5 separate regions of the Homo sapiens genome follow, and regions 1, 2, 3 and 5 are each linked to region 4. Evidence: promoter capture Hi-C in 16 types of primary human blood cells and fetal thymus (Javierre and others, 2016). All regions are on one chromosome and are shown on one strand. Each heading gives the region's core, a stretch centred on a gene start or on the middle of the fragment in contact. The rest is flanking DNA. Distances are from core to core; before and after follow the strand shown. Region 1 has its middle 28 kb from the start of ZNF138. Region 2 has its middle 47 kb from the start of ZNF273. Region 3 holds the start of ZNF680 (zinc finger protein 680). Region 4 holds the start of ZNF92 (zinc finger protein 92). Region 5 overlaps ZNF107 (zinc finger protein 107).

Region 1 (3,370 bases), core at 248-2,747, 610 kb after region 4:
GCAGGAGAATTGCTTGAACCCAGGAGGCGGAGGTTGAAGTGAGCCAAGATCGCACCACTGCACTCCATCTCAAAAAAAACCAAAAAGATATGGGCAATAATATTTTTTGCCATTGAATTTCTAGAGTGAAGCACACAAATCAGCTCAAGAAAAGAGAAGCTTTATGCCAAGATAAAACATCTTAAAGATTTGTTTTCTAGACGAGCAAACTTCCAATTCTTGAAGAAAGAAACTAAAATTAATTCATGCAAAGCAGAATCTCCCAAGAAACATTCTACAAAGAGAGAAAATAAAACTCTGAGGATTACTAGGAATTATGTATTAAAGTTATCCTCACCCAGGAAGATCAGGTTTCTGTCATTTTCTAACATCACATCCTTATATACATTTTTAACACAGTAATACTCTCTAAGCCATTCTATAACTCTGAGAAAAAAGGATGACATACCAGCAATTTTTGCTTCTGCAATGGAAATATGGGCCGCACTGACTTGCCCTTACCAAACCCAAGCACAGCAGACCCTGTGACTTTCATTTGGAACAAAAGGTGAACTCAACCTTTTTTAAATAAAGTATCTGGAAGTCCGCACACTTGATCCCGGCCTCACTGTAGAATCATGTGAGGCACTTAATTAAAAAACAGGGATGTTTCCACACAAAACAACAGAAAGATTCTGTGGGGAGGCACAGGGTATGGTATCTCTTCAAACTGGTCAGGTGATCCTATTGGAAGACTGGGCAGAGAATCACTTAGCTAAGCAGTGCCTCTCAAGCTTCAATGTGCATATAAATGTTTTGGTATTTCAGGCCTCACTGTAAGTAAGTAACATAATGCTGCAGGTTTGCAAAAGGTCCATGAATTAGCTTATTTTAACAAGTTCCCTGTTAATGCAGATGCTGCTCCTTCTAACACCATTGTAGTAGCACTCAGCTACAGAAAGCAGGCACAGCACAGAGTCCCTTACTCCAACATCCTTATCACAACACAAATCCTTTTCATCCAAAGAAAGAACCACCAATCGCCAGCCTAAAACATGACATTCTTTGCAGGCCCTTTAAAGATTACAGAGGCTGGAGTCGGGTGGCTCATGCCTGTAATCCCAGCACTTTGGGAGGCCGAGGCTGGCAGATCACCTGAGGTCAGGAGTTCAAGACCAGCCTGACCAACATGGAGAAACCCCATCTCTACTAAAAATATAAAAAATATAAAAATACAACAAATATAAAAAATACAAAGCTGGGTGTGATGGCACATGCCTGTAATTGCAGCTACTTGGGAGGCTGAGGCAAGAGAATCGCTTGAACCCGGGAGGTGGAGGTTTTGGTGAGCCAAGATCACACCATTGCACTCCAGCCTGGGCAACAAGAGCAAAACTCCATCTCAAAAAAAAAAAAAAGATATTACAGAGGCTGGAGATGGTAGCAATGTCTGAGTAAATCTGCATTTGGAAAACAACATGTGCACATACATTAATGCAATGTTTATGCAGAATGTACTATGTGCTCAGGAGTATGTCACAGAGCACTGTGCTGGCCTCATATTATGTAAGTTTTTTTTTTTTTAACACACTGGGACATGGGTACTAAGAGTCCAATAATATTCAGGATTTAAATACAGGGTCTAGCATTTCTATTTCTTCTTCTGTTTCCCTATTACTGATTTTAAAAAGAAAATATATAGAATAATAGCTCAATAATAGTTATAGATAGATGGGAGAGATACAGAAAGGAAGTGTTAAGTGCAGTTCAGAGGGATTTTTAATTTTTGTGTTTGTATTTTATTGAGACTTGTCGAGAAACTACTAAAACCACAGGGATGGGATGTCTCTAGAAGCACCTGCTTTAATTAAAAAAAAAAAAGATTTTAAGGTTCCAAGTATACAGCTTTTTTTTCCCATTTATCTGCTTTTGGATTTCAGAAAATTGTGAGCACCAGCTCTGGAGAGGCAGTAGGAGCAACCACCCCAAACTCTGACCTCCTTTAAGCAGTTCTGTCAGAGATTCCCGTGTAGAGTCAGACTGGGACAAGATTCAGCATAGGGTGAATCTGGGCAGGTTTGGGACAGAGAATGGGCCCTAGGCTTCTAATCTCAATGCTGCTGAGTAGAAGCAATATAAATAATAATAATAACAACTTCTCTTCTGTCCATGAATAGCCCTTCCAGAGGTGGCATAAAAACTCAGGTAACAATAAAAGGAAAATGACCCAAATGAAGCTTAAGTTCCCTGTGCACCTTCCATCCTTGCACTAATCACATGATGTGAAATTCAACCATGTATTTATGTGCTCCAGACTGCAAGTTTCCAGATGGTAGAGGCCATGACAGCTTCATCTGTTTCTCTAATGGCCATATGAAAGAGAAGAAATTCACTGACTGACCAGTTTGAGCATCCAGATCTATTCATTTTTTGCCAAAGAACCAGAGAAACTCCCATCCTAGTACAAACCAAAAAGAATGTTCTATGAAGGGAGAAACAAACCCTGGATGAGTCACTGTTCTTCCTCTGAAATGGGAACAGAATTAGATTTTGTTATAAGCCTGACCCCAGCCTGCACAGGACATCCTCAAATGTCTCAAACCCTCACAAATGAGGGTGAGAGTGTCTTCACTGATCCTAGGCTGATGCCCCCAGAGTGATCCAGGCAGGAGACTCAGGGTGACTTTCTGGGCTACAGATAATAAGTGGAACTGCCCTGGTGGAGCTGCAGACCAGCTGCAGATCCACCAGGTGGATCAGGATGTGATACTCCTTGTCCCTGATCAGCTAACTCTGGGGTAAGAGAAAAGATGAAAATACTCTACTCCAGTAACACAGTTTACAGGGAGGTATAGTAGTGATTATGGCTCTGGATATTTTGTGGCCCTGACCTCCCACTGCTAAGGTGCTTGTTTAACTTACAGATTCTACCACAGGATTCTGTTGACACCAGAAGCCTCTTACACAGCTGTAGCAGGACACTGGGAACAAGATCTGGACATGGCAAAGGGCTCCACTCTAAAAGCAAAGCTTAAGATGTCTATATTCATCGCTCATGGTGCAGAAAATGTCTTCTGTGAGTTTTCTGCATGTCTTCAACCCAAAGTCTGGCCCTGTCTTGTGAATCCAAGGCAGAGACCAGCTTTTATGTGCAGATTTTAGGTGAAATCAAAGTGACTCTCCCTTTTTGGGGTTTACAGCAAGCCAAGTAAAACCAGAGGAGAGATCCTCTCATGGAATTTTTTTCAACACATTGTAAAAAGTATTTTGACCTAAAAGGAAAAAGCTGGGGTAAACATAATATAAGTAGAGAGTTTATTTTGGCTAAATCTTAAAGATTGCAACCCTGGAGTAAAAAGTTGCCCTGAATATACCCTCCAATTAGAAGCAG
Region 2 (3,721 bases), core at 606-3,105, 520 kb after region 4:
TATCCAATTTATATCACCCTCCTTTGCTATTTCAATGCTGTCTCCACTTTATATCAGTGGGAAACAGGCCACCTGGTCCCAGGAAAGCATGTGGTGCTATTGCGACTTTAACGATGATGATGAAAAGCACTTGTTTGGGTGGTACTGATGTGCCACTGTTATTTTGCCCAAAGCACTGTTTTTTTTTAATTCTTCTCTAAATTTACTGATAAAATAAAATTCTTTTTTTTTTTTTTTTTTTTTTTAAATTTATTTTTTTATTGATAATTCTTGGTTGTTTCTCACAGAGGGGGATTTGGCAGGGTCATGGGACAATAGTGGAGGGAAGGTCAGCAGATAAACAAGTGAACAAAGGTCTCTGGTTTTCCTAGGCAGAGGACCCTGCGGCCTTCCGCAGTGTTTGTGTCCCTGATTACTTGAGATTAGGGATTGGTGATGACTCTTAACGAGCATGGTGCCTTCAAGCATCTGTTTAACAAAGCACATCTTGCACCGCCCTTAATCCATTTAACCCTGAGTGGACACAGCACATGTTTCAGAGAGCACAGGGTTGGGGGTAAGGTCACAGATCAACAGGATCCCAAGGCAGAAGAATTTTTCTTAGTGCAGAACAAAATGAAAAGTCTCCCATGTCTACTTCTTTCTACACAGACACAGCAACCATCCGATTTCTCAATCTTTTCCCCACCTTTCCCCCTTTTCTATTCCACAAAACCGCCATTGTCATCATGGCCCGTTCTCAATGAGCTGTTGGGCACACCTCCCAGACGGGGTGGTGGCTGGGCAGAGGGGCTCCTCACTTCCCAGTAGGGGCGGCCGGGCAGAGGCGCCCCTCACCTCCCGGACGGGGCAGCTGGCCGGGCGGGGGGGCTGACCCCCCCCCACCTCCCTCCCAGACGGGGCAGCTGGCCGGGCAGAGGGGCTCCTCACTTCCCAGTAGGGGCGGCCGGGCAGAGGTGCCCCTCACCTCCCGGACGGGCAGCTGGCCGGGCAGGGGGCTGACCCCCCCACCTCCCTCCCAGACTGGGCGGCTGGCCGGGCAAAGGGGCTCCTCACTTCCCAGTAGGGGCGGCCGGGCAGAGGCGCCCCTCACCTCCCAGACGGGGCAGCTGGCCGGGCGGAGGGCTGACCCCCCCACCTCCCTCCCGGACAGGGCGGCTGGCTGGGCGGGGGGCTGACCCCCCCACCTCCCTCCCGGACGGGGCGGCTGGCCGGGCAGAGGGGCTCCTCACTTCCCAGTAGGGGCGGCCGGGCAGAGGCGCCCCTCACCTCCCAGACGGGGCGGCTGGCCGGGCGGAGGGCTGACCCCCCCACCTCCCTCCGGACGGGGCAGCTGGCCAGGCTGAGGGGCTCCTCACTTCCCAGTAGGGGTGGCCGGGCAGAGGCGCCCCTCACCTCCCGGACGGGGCGGCTGGCCGGGCGGGGGGCTGACCCCCGACCTCCCTCCCGGATGGGGCGGCTGGCCGGGCAGGGGCTGACCCCCCCACCTCCCTCCCGGACGGGGTGGCTGCCGGGCAGAGACGCTCCTCACTTCCCAGATGGGGTGGCTGCCGGGCGGAGAGGCTCCTCACTTCTCAGACGGGGCAGCTGCCGGGCGGAGGGGCTCCTCACTTCTCAGACGGGGTGGTTGCCAGGCAGAGGGTCTCCTCACTTCTCAGACGGGGCGGCCGGGCAGAGACGCTCCTCACCTCCCAGACGGGGTCTCGGCCGGGCAGAGGCACTCCTCACATCCCAGATGGGGCGGCGGGGCAGAGGCGCTCCCCACATCTCAGACGATGGGCGGCCGGGCAGAGACGCTCCTCACTTCCTAGATGTGATGGCGGCTGGGAAGAGGCGCTCCTCACTTCCTAGATGGGATGGCGGCCGGGCGCAGACGCTCCTCACTTTCCAGACTGGGCAGCCAGGCAGAGAGGCTCCTCACATCCCAGACGATGGGCAGCCAGGCAGAGACGCTCCTCACTTCCCAGATGGGGTGGCGGCCGGGCAGAGGCTGCAATCTCGGCACTTTGGGAGGCCAAGGCAGGCGGCTGGGAGGTGTAGGTTGTAGCGAGCCGAGATCACGCCACTGCACTCCAGTCTGGGCACCATTGAGCACTGAGTGAACGAGACTCCGTCTGCAATCCTGGCACCTCGGGAGGCCAAGGCTGGCGGATCACTCGCGGTTAGGGGCTGGAGACCGGCCCGGCCAACACAGCGAAACCCCGTCTCCACCAAGACCAGTCAGGTGTGGCGGCGCGTGCCTGCAATCGCAGGCACTCGGCAGGCTGAGGCAGGAGAATCAGGCAGGGAGGTTGCAGTGAGCCGAGATGGCAGCAGTACAGTCCAGCTTCGGCTCCGCATGAGAGGGAGACCGTGGGGAGAGTGAGAGGGAGAGGGAGAGGGAGAGGGAGACGGAGAGGGAGAGGGAGACGGAGAGGGAGAGGGAGAGGGAGAGGCCCCCTTACATTTTTGCACGCAAGATAAAATAAAATTCTTAACTAAGAAGACTTTATCTCATTCATGTATGTATTATGAAATTTTGTTGACATTTAAGCGTCTCTGACTTACCAGGAATATTGAAATTTTCCATGAATTCAATTGAGCACTGTAAATAAACAATTGTTTACTAATAGCCTTTGGGAGGCAGAGTAAGATTTACAGAATTTCTTTATAATATGTTCCTAGTAATCCCTCTGAACACAGCATTCTCAATTCTTAGTATTCACCCTGAGTCACTCAGGGGAAATTGGTATCTCTGTAAACAGGCAAATGAAGGTGCTGGGTGGAGGTGCATGACATTGTACAGAAATGATGTCCACACGCACCTATAAGGGCCTTAATTTAATGGACTGTTAGTTACATGGCTACATACTTACTGAATCTAGTCATACTATCTTTTGTCAGCTAATGACATTTGTTACCTATTAATTCAATATAATTATTTGCTTGGCTGAAAAATAAATCCTTTAATTTATTCTAAATTGAGAGATTAGATTTGCAATCTTCAATCTTTTAATGTTAAATCAGAGAAAAGCAATGTATGTATATAGTATGCATTTTCCTACCCATGAAAATTATTTGTATTGCCTTGAAAACCCTAGGAAGCCACCTAAAGAATACTCTCTTCAAATCCTTTAGCCAGGATTTTAGATTTCAAAAATAAAAACCTTAACGATAGACCGAAGTCTAAATCTTCTCTTTGCTTCTTGTCAGTAATCTGGCCATTTCAAAAAGCATGTCAATTATGCCAAGCCATTGAAAAGATGTGGTTTTGACTAGTTTTATCCCATTTCAAATGTTTTTTTCTAATTGTTACTTTTGTCATGTTAATCTAAGAGCAAATATCTACATAAATGTTCATGCATTCAAGCAATATTTATATTATGACTAGGTGTGATGGCTCACGCCTATAATCCCAGCACTTTTGGAGGCCGAGGTGGGCCGATCACTTGAGGTCAGGAGTTCAAGACTAGCCTGGCAAAGTTGGTGAAACCTCATCTCTACTAAAAATACAAAAGTTAGCCAGGTGTGGTAGTGTGTGCCTGTAGTTTCAGCTGCTTCGCAGGCTGAGGCAGGACAATCAGTCGAACCTGGGAGATGGAGGTTGCAGTGAGCTGAGATCACGTCACTGCACTTCAGCCAGAGCAATGAAGTGAGACTCTGTCTCCAAAAAAAAGAAGTACATATGTATGTGTGTGTGTGTTTAAAGTTCAATATTTTATTACAGTATAGTAGAATCCTC
Region 3 (3,757 bases), core at 712-3,211, 810 kb after region 4:
TTCCTAAAGTTGAAGAAAGTGTCAACAACTGATTGAGGGTTTCTCTCCAGTATAAATTCTCCTGTGTACAATAAGATATAAGTGAAGATATTAAACTCAACTTTTCAAAATCAGGAAATGTAACATTAAAAAATGAGGTGAATCTTAATAACATAAATAAAGTATACAATCACAAAAAACAGATACTGTCCGAATCCACTTACATGAGATAGCTAGAAACAGAAACCAAAATGATATTTTGAAAAAGATAAATAATAGGAAATTGGGCAGTTGTTTCAGGGGTATTGAGTTTTGTTTAGAAGATAAAAATGTTTTCCGAGCGTGGTGGCTCATGCCTGTAATCCCAGCACTTTGGGAGGCCAAGGTGGGCAGATCACCTGAGGTTGGGAGTTTGAGACAACCCTGACCAACATGGAGAAACCCCATCTCTACTAAAAATACAAAATTAGCCAGGTTTGGTGGCACATGCCTGTAATCCCAGCTATTCGGGAGGCTGAGGCACTAGAATCACTTGAACCCGGGAGGTAGAGGTTGCAGTGAGTTGAGATCACGCCATTGCACTCCAGCCTGGGTGACAAGAGCAAAACTCTGTCTCAAAAAAGAAAAAAAGAAAAAGAAAGACCAGGGAGGGATCTGTAGACATAGAGCATTCTTCTTCTGTGGCCCCATCGTCCTTTGTTCACTGTCTGATCTCTGGAAGAAAGGTGGGCAACAGGTGGTCTTCCTGTTGTTATTTTATTCCTGCTGTCCTCTGCTCTTTCTATGGCCACTATCTGTTCTACCCTTGGAACTGAAGAGAGATGTTGGTAGGGAAAGACTTTCCCCTTATTTATGGCAGGAAAAGGATGTTCAAGCCCAGTGTGGTGGCTCATGGCTGTAATCCCAGCACTTTGGGAGGATGAGACAGAAGGATTACTTAAGGTCAGGGGTTTGAGTCCAGCCTGGCTGACATGGCAAAATTCCATTTCTACTAAAAATACAAAAATAAGCCAGGCATGGTGGCACATGCCTGTAATCACAGCTACTCTGGGGAAAATAAGGCAGGAGAATTGCTTGAATCCGGAATGTGGAGATTGCAGTGAGCCGAGATTGCACCACTGCACTCCAGCCTGGACATAAGAGCAAGACTCTGTTTGAAAAGAAAAGAAGAGAAGAGAAAGGAAAAGAAAGAAAAGAAGAGAAGAGAAAGGAAATAAAAAGAAAGGAAGAAAAGAAAAGAAAAAAGAAAAGGGATGTTCAGGATTTCATCTTCTGCCATCAGAGCTGCACTTCAATGTGGCAGCTATTGGCCACCTGTGGCTACTGGGTGCATGGAATGTGGCTGGTCTGAACTGCGATGTGGTAGAAAGGTAAAATACATAGTTTTAATTTTTTTTCCAAAATATATATACTTTGTTAATAATTACATACTGGTCACATATTAAAATGATAATATTTTGGATATATTGGGTTAATTAAATTTCTACAATGAATTCCTCCTGTTTTTTTTTCTTTTTAAAATTTTCCTTCTAGAAAATTTAGAATTCACGTGGCTCACATTCAATTTCAGAGGACTGCCTTTTTAAAAAAAAATGTCAGGCTACCCGCTCAAAGGACAAGAAGCCAGGAGCTCATAAAATTGGAAAATTTTAAATAATTGTTATTGCATTATTTTCATGTGTGAATAGCCACATAATATATTATTTATAAAGGCATACGACCTTATACGCAGGGTTATATGCAAATACTCTCTGGTGTGAGCCTGGTCCGTTCAGGGAGGAAGCCCTTCCCTGAGAACCCTGCAGCTTGGATTTCACTCTTTCTACGTTCAGCCCAGCCGCTGAGCACATATTCTGTCACTCAGGGCATTAGGGGGTGGCGCCCTAAACATTATCCAATCAGGGACGCGGGGCTGGGACCCGTCCAATCAGGCACGCAGCTGGAGCGGACAGGACGGCTTCCGGGATTTGGCGGGGCCTTTGTCTCTAGCTGCTGCGGGAGCTCCAGGTCTAGTCTTTACTGCTCTGTGTATTCTGCTCCTAGAGGCCCAGCCTCTGTGACTCCGTTATCTGCAGGTATTGGGAGATGCACAGCTAAGATGCCAGGACCACCTGGAAGCCTAGAAATGGTGAGAGTGCGGTCCGACACCCCGAGAGAGGGGGAGGGGCTGGTTGGAACCGGTCGGAAGTGGCTGTGGCAGGACTCCAGGCTCCAAGCACTGGGCTCCAAAATCCGCGGCCCGAGTTGTCCTTGGCGCAGCTCGGTCCTCAGTCCCCTTCAGCCATAAGATGGCGGCTGGGCTGACAGCCGGACCCCGGGCGTCATGTCTCCTCCCTGCGCAGTGACTGTGCCTTGGCCTGGAGCCCTCGCTGGGCAGCTCTGCACCCGCAGTGCCGCATCTCTGCCGATAACTCGGGGTGCAGGGTTCATAAATGGGAAGCGCTTTGGTCCATGGGGTCCCAGTCCCTCCTTTTTTCTATTAAAAATTCATGGAAGTCACTGCAAATATATTTAAAAATGTAATAGAAGAGTGGTTCAAAAATCGTAGAGCACCCAGCTATGATTTGTAATTTGTGGTCCATGGGAGGGGCTTGAAGGAAAGACTTTTAAGTGGTGTATGATGAATAAAACCAAATTCAATAATCGGTTAGGTACAGTTACATAACTTCTTAATTTGTAAGATCAAAGTGGAAATTTTCTGGTTATGTAATCGGAGGGTACTTGGCAGTTTATAGTTGGTTAAGCAAGAATTTTATTTCCCCCAATGTAATACTTTACAAAAAACAATGTATTTGAGTTAGATTTTTTTTTTTTTTTTTTTGAAACGGAGTCTCGCTCTGTCGCCCAGGCTGAAGTGCAGTGGCACGATCTCGGCTCACTACAACCTCTGCCTCCCGGGTTCAAGTGATTCTCCTGTCTCAGCCTCCCGAGTAGCTGGGATTACAGGCGCCCGCCACCATGCCCGGCTAATTTTTGTATTTTTAGTAGAGACGGGTTTCACCATGTTGGACAGGCTGGTCTTGAACTCCTGACCTTGTGATCTGCCCGCCTCGGCCTCTCAAAGTGCTGGGATTACAGGCGTGAGCCACTGTGCCTAATGTAAATTTTTTTTTTTTTTGAGACGGAGTCTTGCTCTGTCGCCCAGGCTGGAGTGCAGTGGCGCGATCTCGGCTCACTGCAAGCTCCGCCTCCTGGGTTGACGCCATTCTCCTGCCTCAGCCTCCTGAGTAGCTGGGACTACAGGCGCCCGCCACCACGCCTGGCTAATTTTTTTGTATTTTTAGTAGGGACAGGGTTTCACCAAGTTAGCCAGGATGGTCTTGATCTCCTGACCTCGTAATCCACCCGCCTCGGCCTCCCAAAGTGCTGGGATTACAGGCGTCAGCCACCGCGCCCGGCCCTAGTGTACATTTTTGATACTATATTTTAATTAATCATTTTTTGAGAAATCATTGGATGGTACTTTTTAAAAGATTTGTTTTCCGTTTGTAAAAATTTTCTGTAAGAAGAAAGCAAAGAGTAATCCCTGGACACTATTGTAAAAAATCTCTGCGCCTCTTTTCCTTTTATCTTCCATAGGCACAGAGATCTTATCAGAATTTTGGGGGGTCACAGTTTCCCTTTGGAAACTTTATGGGGTGATGTGTCCTCGGCTACCCTTCAGATTTTTCCTGGTCCTGGGTTTCAGTACTGTCTGGGAATAAACCATGATACCCACCATGACTATGTCTGCTAGAGTGCCTAATGAATATCAGCTCCTGGGTCATTTTCTCCCACA
Region 4 (3,475 bases), core at 699-3,198:
GATCTTGGCTCACTGCAATCTCCCTCTCCCGGGTTCAAGCGATTCCCCTGCCTCAGCCTCCCGAGTAGCTGGGATTACAGGCATGCACCACCATGCCTGGCTAATTTTTTGTATTTTAGTAGAAACCGGCTTTCACCATATTGGCCAGGATGGTCTCGATCTCCAGGTCAGGTTTTGTTGTATCTTTTGGAATACTTTTTTTTTTTCCACAAATCTTAGAGAATCCTGGGGACAGAAATAATTTTGGTGTTTTCCTCCCAGTACCAGCATCTGATTGGCTGACCAGCAATGTTTCTCCAAGAAATGAAAGCTGGGTTGAGTGAAGACAATCTTAATATCTCAAGGGGTAAGCTTTTCAAAGGAAGAGTAGCCCAGGAGATGCTTCTCAGCCCCAGGGCATCCACCTGCTCCCTTGAGAAGCTACATTCCATACTTCAGGTTATTCTACGAGAGAAAATGACCCAGGAGCTGATATTTACTAGACACTCTAGCGACATTGCCATGGTAGGTATCTTGCCCCAGACAGTACTAAAACCCAGGACCAGAAAAAGAACTGAAGGGTGGCTGAGAACACATCACCCCATAAAGTTTCCAAAGGGAAAGCAACCATGACCCAAAAACATTCTGATAAGATCTCTGTGCCTAAGGAAGATAAAAAGAAAAGAGGCACAGAGATTTACAATACAATGTTAGGGGATTATTCTTTGCTTTCTTCTCATAGGAAATATTTACAAACAGGAAACAAATCTTTTAAAACGTGCCATCCAATGCTTTGCCAAAAATGATTAATTAAAATATGCCATCGAAAATGTACACTAAAGGAAACACACTTGCTAATGCGAATTAGGGAGGGTAAGTTGGCATTTGGGAATGTCAGAAGGAACTGGAAATTTAGTATTTTACTGCAAGCCAGAATTAAGCTGGAGGAATGAGGGATGGGGGGTAGACTTGAGACCCTGCTTGGGACACATGTGAAAACTGCAGGGGAAAATCAGTCCCCTGTGGATGTGAAAATAATTAAGTGGCAGGCAATTAGATTGAGGTGGCTCTAGTCCCTGGGTTCCTACTTTAAAAAAAATATAATTCAAATGCATTTTTGGCGGGGGGAGGGGAGGGTAAATAACACCGAGGGAACAAAATTCAGGCTTAACCAACTATAAACTGACAATCTCTGATTACATGACCAGGAAATTTCTACCTTAATCATACAAATTAAAAAACGACGTAACTGTACCTAACCAATTATTAAACTTGTTTTTTTTCATTATGCATCTTATAAAAGTGTTTCCTTCAAGCCCCTCCCACGGACCACAAACTACAAATCATAGCTGGGTGCTCTAAAATTCCTGAATCGCTCTTTGATTAAATTCTTCAATATTTTTACCTTGACTCCCATAAATTTTTAATAGGAAAAAAGAGGACCTGAGAACCACACGGACCAAAGCTCTTCCCATTCATAAACCCCGCACCCCGAGTCAGGATTCTTCTCTTTACTATTCTCCCGTCGTCCCTGCACACTCGGCGAGAGATGCGACGCTGCGGGTGCAGAGCTGCCCAGGGAGGGCTCCAGGCCAAAGCACAGTCACTGCGCAGGGAGGAGACAGGACGCCCGGGGTCCCGGCTGTCAGCCCAGCCGCCATCTTATGGCTGAAGGAGACTGAGGGCCGAGCTGCGCCAAGGAGAACTCGGGCCGCGGATCTCGGAGCCGACTGCGGGAAGGCCCGAGGCCCGCCACAGCCACTTCCAATCGGTTCCAGCCAGACCCTCCCCCTCTCTCGGGATGTGGGACCCAGCAGGCTCACCATTTCTAGGCTTCCAGGGGGTCCTGGCGTCTTAGCTGTGAACCTCCAAGTTCTTGCAGGTAACAGGGTCACAGCGGCGAGCCTTTATCAGCACAGGACGCAGAGCAGTGAAGACTAGACGTGGAGCGCCGGCTGCAGCGAGAGACAAAGGCCCCGCCAAATCCCGGAAGCTGTGCTGTCCGCTCCAGTTGCGTGCCTGATTGGATGGTTCCCAGCCCAGCGTTCCTGATTGGATAACGTTTAAGGCCCCGCCCCTTCGGGCCCTGAGTGACGGGAGATGTGATCAGATGCTGGACTGAAGGAAGAGTGACAGCCTAAGCTGCAGCCTTTTCAGACGGGGCTTCCTCCCTGAGCTGAGTCAGGCCCACCCCAGACAGTATTTGCATTTAACCTTGTGAATAAGGCCATATGCATTTATAAATAGTATATTATATGTCTATTCACAAATGCAAAGAATATAATACCAATTATTCAAAATTTTCAGATTTTATGACCTTCCTGGCTTCTGGTTTTGTTGTTTTGTTTTGTTTTTGGTTTTTGTTTTTTGAGACAGAGTCTAGCTCTGTCGCCAGGCTGGAGTGCAGTGGCACGAGCTCAACTCGCTGCAACCTCCGCCTCCCAGGTTCAAGCGATTCTCCTGTCTCAGCCTCCCGAGGAACTGGGACTACAGGCGCACGCCACCACACCCAGCTAATTTTTGTATTTTTAGTAGAGACGGGGTTTCACCATGTTGGCCAGGATGGTCTTGATCTCTTGATCTTGTGATCCGCCCGCCTCGGTCTCCCAAAGTGCTGGGATTACAGGTGTGAGCCACAGAGCCCGGCCAACTTCTGTTTTTTTAAGCAGGCAGCCTGAAATTTTAAAAAGAAGGCAATCCTCTAAAATAAAATGTGGGCGACACGTGAATTGTACATTTTTTAGCAGCCAAACTTTAAAAAGAAACAAGAAACAGGTGAAATTGATTGTAACAATTTAACCCAATATATCTAAAACCTTATTCTAATATGTGAGTGATATGTAATTATTAATAAAGTATATATATTTATTTGGAACTGAATCTTTGAAATTAACTCTATTTTACCTTTCTAGCACATTGCAATTCAGACCAGCCACATTCCAGGCAGCCAGTAGCTACACATGGCCAATAGCTGCCACATTGAAATGCAGCCCTGACATCAGGAGGGTGAAGGGTCTGAACACCCCTTTTCTGCCAGAAGTGAGGGGACAGCCTCTCTTTACCAACATCTTTCTACAGTTTTGAGGGTGGAACAAGATAGTCACCATAGAAAGAGCAGAGGGCAGCAAGAATAAAATAACCACAGGTACACCACTGCTGGCCACCTGTTGCCCACCTTTCTTCCAGAGATCAGACAGTAACCAAAAGATGATGGGGCCACAGGAGATTAAACGCTATGTCTTCAGATCTCTCCACAGTCATCACTTCCAGTGTTTAAGTATAGAGAAAACAGATTAAAGGTAAACTTATTTTGCTATTTGGCCTGGCCCTAGTGGCCAGAGTGTGTTTATCTGTTTTCTCCTGTGGCGTGGGGATTGTGTGAGTACAAGTACCAATCCCATGCAAACATGCCTACATATTTTTCTGCATTACTCAATATTATCTTACAAAACATCCAACTTTAGAGCAGAAAAAAAAATCAGCACTTTTAGGGTGC
Region 5 (3,275 bases), core at 34-2,533, 710 kb after region 4:
CCTGCCTCAGCCTCCCAAAGTGCTGGGATTACAGGCGTGAGCCACTGCACCCAACCAAGGGAAGGAAATTTTAAGGTGCTTACATTTCATACCTCAGTAAGAAATGCAAAGTATTTATTTCTTTCAGACGATAAATGTATTATTCTATTATTTTCATTAAAAATTAGGTAGTAATCAATTAGTCATATGGGATTAGTAATCAAGAAGTCATACTTCTAGGAGGTACCAACTTTCATCTCATAAAATTTAGCATTAACCAGCTGGGTGCAGTGGCTCATGCCTGTAATCCCTTGGGAGACCAAGGCAGGCAGATCACTTGAGGTCAGGAGTTCAAGGCCAGCCTGCCCAACATGGTGAAACCCCGTGTCTAATAAAACTACAAAAATTACCTGGGCATGGTGGTGCATGCCTGTAATCCCAGCTACTTGCGAGGTTGAGGCAGGAGAATTGCTTGAGCCCGGAAGGCGGAGGTTTCAGTGAGCCGAGATCGCACCACTGCCCTTCAGCCTGAGCAACAGAGCGAGACTCCATCTCAAAAAAAAAAAAAAAAAAAAAAAAAAAAAAAAAAAATTAGCGTTATCCTCACAAATCAAGATGATAGGATATAGAACAGAGGTATTTACTGTAACAAAAGTACCCTGCAAAAAGAGGAACTGATGCTTTCATAAATCTATGTAACTCATCAATTATCTACCACATTTTCTTGTAAAAATGTATTCATTTTCTACAGTCAAAATGGAAGAGAGGTTTTTTTCCTTTTTGTTTCCCTGCTAGCACTCTAAAAACTAAGCCTTGGAATACCGTTGGACATCACCCAGCCATAAAAAACACACCTGAGTAAATTCCTAAACTAAGTCTGGGAAAGAAAAAGGTAAATGAGAATTCTTAATAAATGGAATATATGATTAGATATTATTTTTCTCTGAAACTCACCTCTTTTATGCTCTGTAAATATTTTCTTAACTTTTAAATCATACTAATAAAATGCAAGTTACAGTTATAAAACTGAAATCAAAATAAGTGAACAAATCTTTTCAAGGTGACAAACCCAGGGAGTGGCGGGGCTGATTAGAAAACAGATGTGTCTGATGAGTTCATGGCCTTTGCAGGGACATGGATAAAGCTGGAAACCATCGTTCTCAGCAAGGACAAAAAACCAAACACCGCATGTTCTCACTTATAGGTGGGAATTGAACAATGAGAACACATGGACACAGGAAGGGGAACATCACACACTGGGGCCTGCTGTGGGGTGGGGGGAGGGGGGAGGGATAGCATTAGGAGATATACCTAATGCTAAATGACGAGTTACTGGGTGCAGCACACCAACAGGGCACATGTGTACATATGTAACAAACCTGCACGTTATGCACATGTACCCTAAAACTTAAAGTATAATAATAATAAAAAAAAAGAAAACAGATGTGTCTGACTCATGTGTCAAGTCAGGCCACCCAAACACTAGATTCTCCTACCCCATCCTGCTCATTTAAGTGCCCAATGACCACCCTCTCTGTAGACACTGCCCTATGCCTCAGTGACTACTCCAAGTGCATTTCATTTTGCAAGTTCTTGTACCATCTCACTGGGGTCAAGTTTGATTTTTTTTTTTTTTTGTCTTCTGGAATACTATTTTTTCTTTCACAAATCTTAGAGAATCCAGGGGGCAGAAATTATTTCTGAGTTTTCCTCTCAATACCAGCATCTGATTGGCTGACCAGCAATGTACCTCTGAGAAATGGAAGTCGGGTTGAGTGAACACAATCTTAATGCCTCAAAGGGTTAGCTTTCCAAAGGAAGGGTATACCAGGAGATTCCTCTCAGCCCCAGGGCATCCACCTGCTCCCTTGAGAGGCTACACTCCAACCTCAGATTGTCCTCTGTCTCCCATTCCCAGATACCCAGAGTTCCATTCCAGGCCAGGAGCTGAAATTTACTAGAGATTCTAGCATACACAGCCACAGTTGATATCTTGATTTATCCCCAGACAGTACTGAAACCCAGGACCAGGAGAAAACCGAAAGGTGGCTGAGGACACATCACCCTGTAAAGTTTCCAAAGGGAAACCTTGACCCAAAAACATTCTGATAAGATCTCTGCGCCTAGGGAAGATAAAAGGAAAATAGGCACAGACTTTTTTTTACAATACAGTGTCAGGGGATTATTTTTTGTTTTCTTCTCATTGGAAATATTTTCAAACAGCAAACAATTTGTTTAAAGTGCCACCCAATAATTTGTCAACAATGATTAATTAAAATACAGTATCTAAAATGTACACTAAAGGACAAATAGTTGATAATGTGAATTAGGGAGGGGAAGCTGGGATTTGGGAATGTCAAAGGAAACTGGAAATTTAGCATTTTACTGAAAGTCAGTTAGGCTAAAAGAATGGGGAATAGGGAGTAGTCTTGAGACCCTGCTTGAGACACGTGAAAGTTGCAGGGGAAAATCTGTCCCCTGTGGAGTGTGAAAATAACTAAATGGCAGGCAATTAGACTGAGGTGGCTCTAGTCCCAGGGTTTTTACTTTTTAAAAAATCTAACTCAAATGCTTTTTTTTTGTAAATTACTACATTGGGGAAAACAAAATTTAGACTTAATCAACCATGAACTGCCAATTAAGCTCTGATTACGTGACCAGAAAATTTCCACCTTCATCTAAAACTAAGAAACTACGTAACTCTACCTAACCAATTATTGAGTTTGCTTTCCTTTATCATGCACCTTCTAAAAGTCTTTTCTTCAAGCCCCTCCCATGGAAAATAAACTACAAACCACAGCTGGGTGCTCTATAATTCTTCAATTACTCTTTGATTAAATTCTTTAACATTTTTGTGGTGACTTCCATAGATTTTTAAGAGAAAAAAGATGGACTAGGAACCCCACAGACTAAAGCTTTTCCCATTCATGAACCCCGCATCCCGAGTCAGGATTCTCCCCTGATGACCCTCCCGGCATCCCTGCACAATCGGGGAGAGATGCCGCGCTGCGGGTGCAAAGCCGCCCGGAGAGGGCTCCAGGCCAGGGCACAGTCACTGAGCAGGGAGGAGACAGGACGCCCAGGGTCCCGGCTGTCAGCCCAGCCGCCATCTTACGGCTGAAGGGGACTGAGGACCGAGCTGCGCCAAGGAGAACTCGGGGCCGCGGGGGACTGAGGGCCGAGCTGCGCCAAGGAGAACTTGGGGCCGCGGACTTTGGAGGCCCGAGTCCAGCCACAGCCACTTCCGATCGGTTCCAACCAGCCCCTCCCCCTCTCTCGGGATGTCGGACCCAGCA

Evidence for each region. Contacts are between HindIII fragments. The CHiCAGO score rates a contact against its expected background, and 5 or more counts as called.
Region 1: a contact is called between a fragment that was not itself captured here and the fragment with the promoter of ZNF92 in region 4, in 1 of 17 cell types (erythroblasts). The highest score is 5.3, in erythroblasts.
Region 2: a fragment that was not itself captured here is called in contact with the fragment with the promoter of ZNF92 in region 4 in 1 of 17 cell types (M2 macrophages); the score reaches 5.4 in M2 macrophages.
Region 3: a contact is called between the fragment with the promoter of ZNF680 here and the fragment with the promoter of ZNF92 in region 4, in 2 of 17 cell types (naive CD8 T cells and non-activated CD4 T cells). The highest score is 6.6, in naive CD8 T cells.
Region 5: a fragment that was not itself captured here is called in contact with the fragment with the promoter of ZNF92 in region 4 in 3 of 17 cell types (total CD4 T cells, neutrophils and M2 macrophages); the score reaches 7.4 in total CD4 T cells.

What each region holds. Positions count from the first base shown.
Region 1 is chr7:64,765,178-64,768,547 of GRCh38, reverse strand. No RefSeq gene overlaps it. Among named protein-coding and RNA genes, the nearest start is that of ZNF138, 28 kb to the left of the region's middle. The HindIII fragment of the contact is 1,443 bases long and covers 776-2,218 here.
Region 2 is chr7:64,854,184-64,857,904 of GRCh38, reverse strand. It overlaps a transcript of ZNF138 not described here. Among named protein-coding and RNA genes, the nearest start is that of ZNF273, 47 kb to the left of the region's middle. RefSeq lists an enhancer at 1,883-2,439. The HindIII fragment of the contact is 5,494 bases long and covers 1-3,721 here.
Region 3 is chr7:64,561,275-64,565,031 of GRCh38, reverse strand. ZNF680 (zinc finger protein 680) reads left to right here and starts at 1,961. Exons shown (of 4, transcript NM_178558.5): 1 at 1,961-2,107. The coding sequence starts at 2,078. RefSeq lists a silencer at 1,803-1,912 and an enhancer at 2,013-2,372. The HindIII fragment of the contact is 20,565 bases long and covers 1-3,757 here.
Region 4 is chr7:65,372,328-65,375,802 of GRCh38, reverse strand. It overlaps ZNF92 (zinc finger protein 92), which reads right to left and starts at 1,948. Exons shown (of 4, transcript NM_152626.4): 1 at 1,803-1,948. The coding sequence starts at 1,805. RefSeq lists an enhancer at 1,518-1,917 and a silencer at 1,813-2,083. The HindIII fragment of the contact is 7,156 bases long and covers 354-3,475 here.
Region 5 is chr7:64,666,293-64,669,567 of GRCh38, reverse strand. All of the region lies in intron 1 of ZNF107 (zinc finger protein 107), which reads right to left. Among named protein-coding and RNA genes, the nearest start is that of ZNF107, 1.8 kb to the right of the region's middle. RefSeq lists enhancers at 3,108-3,227, 3,248-3,275. The HindIII fragment of the contact is 3,227 bases long and covers 1-2,896 here.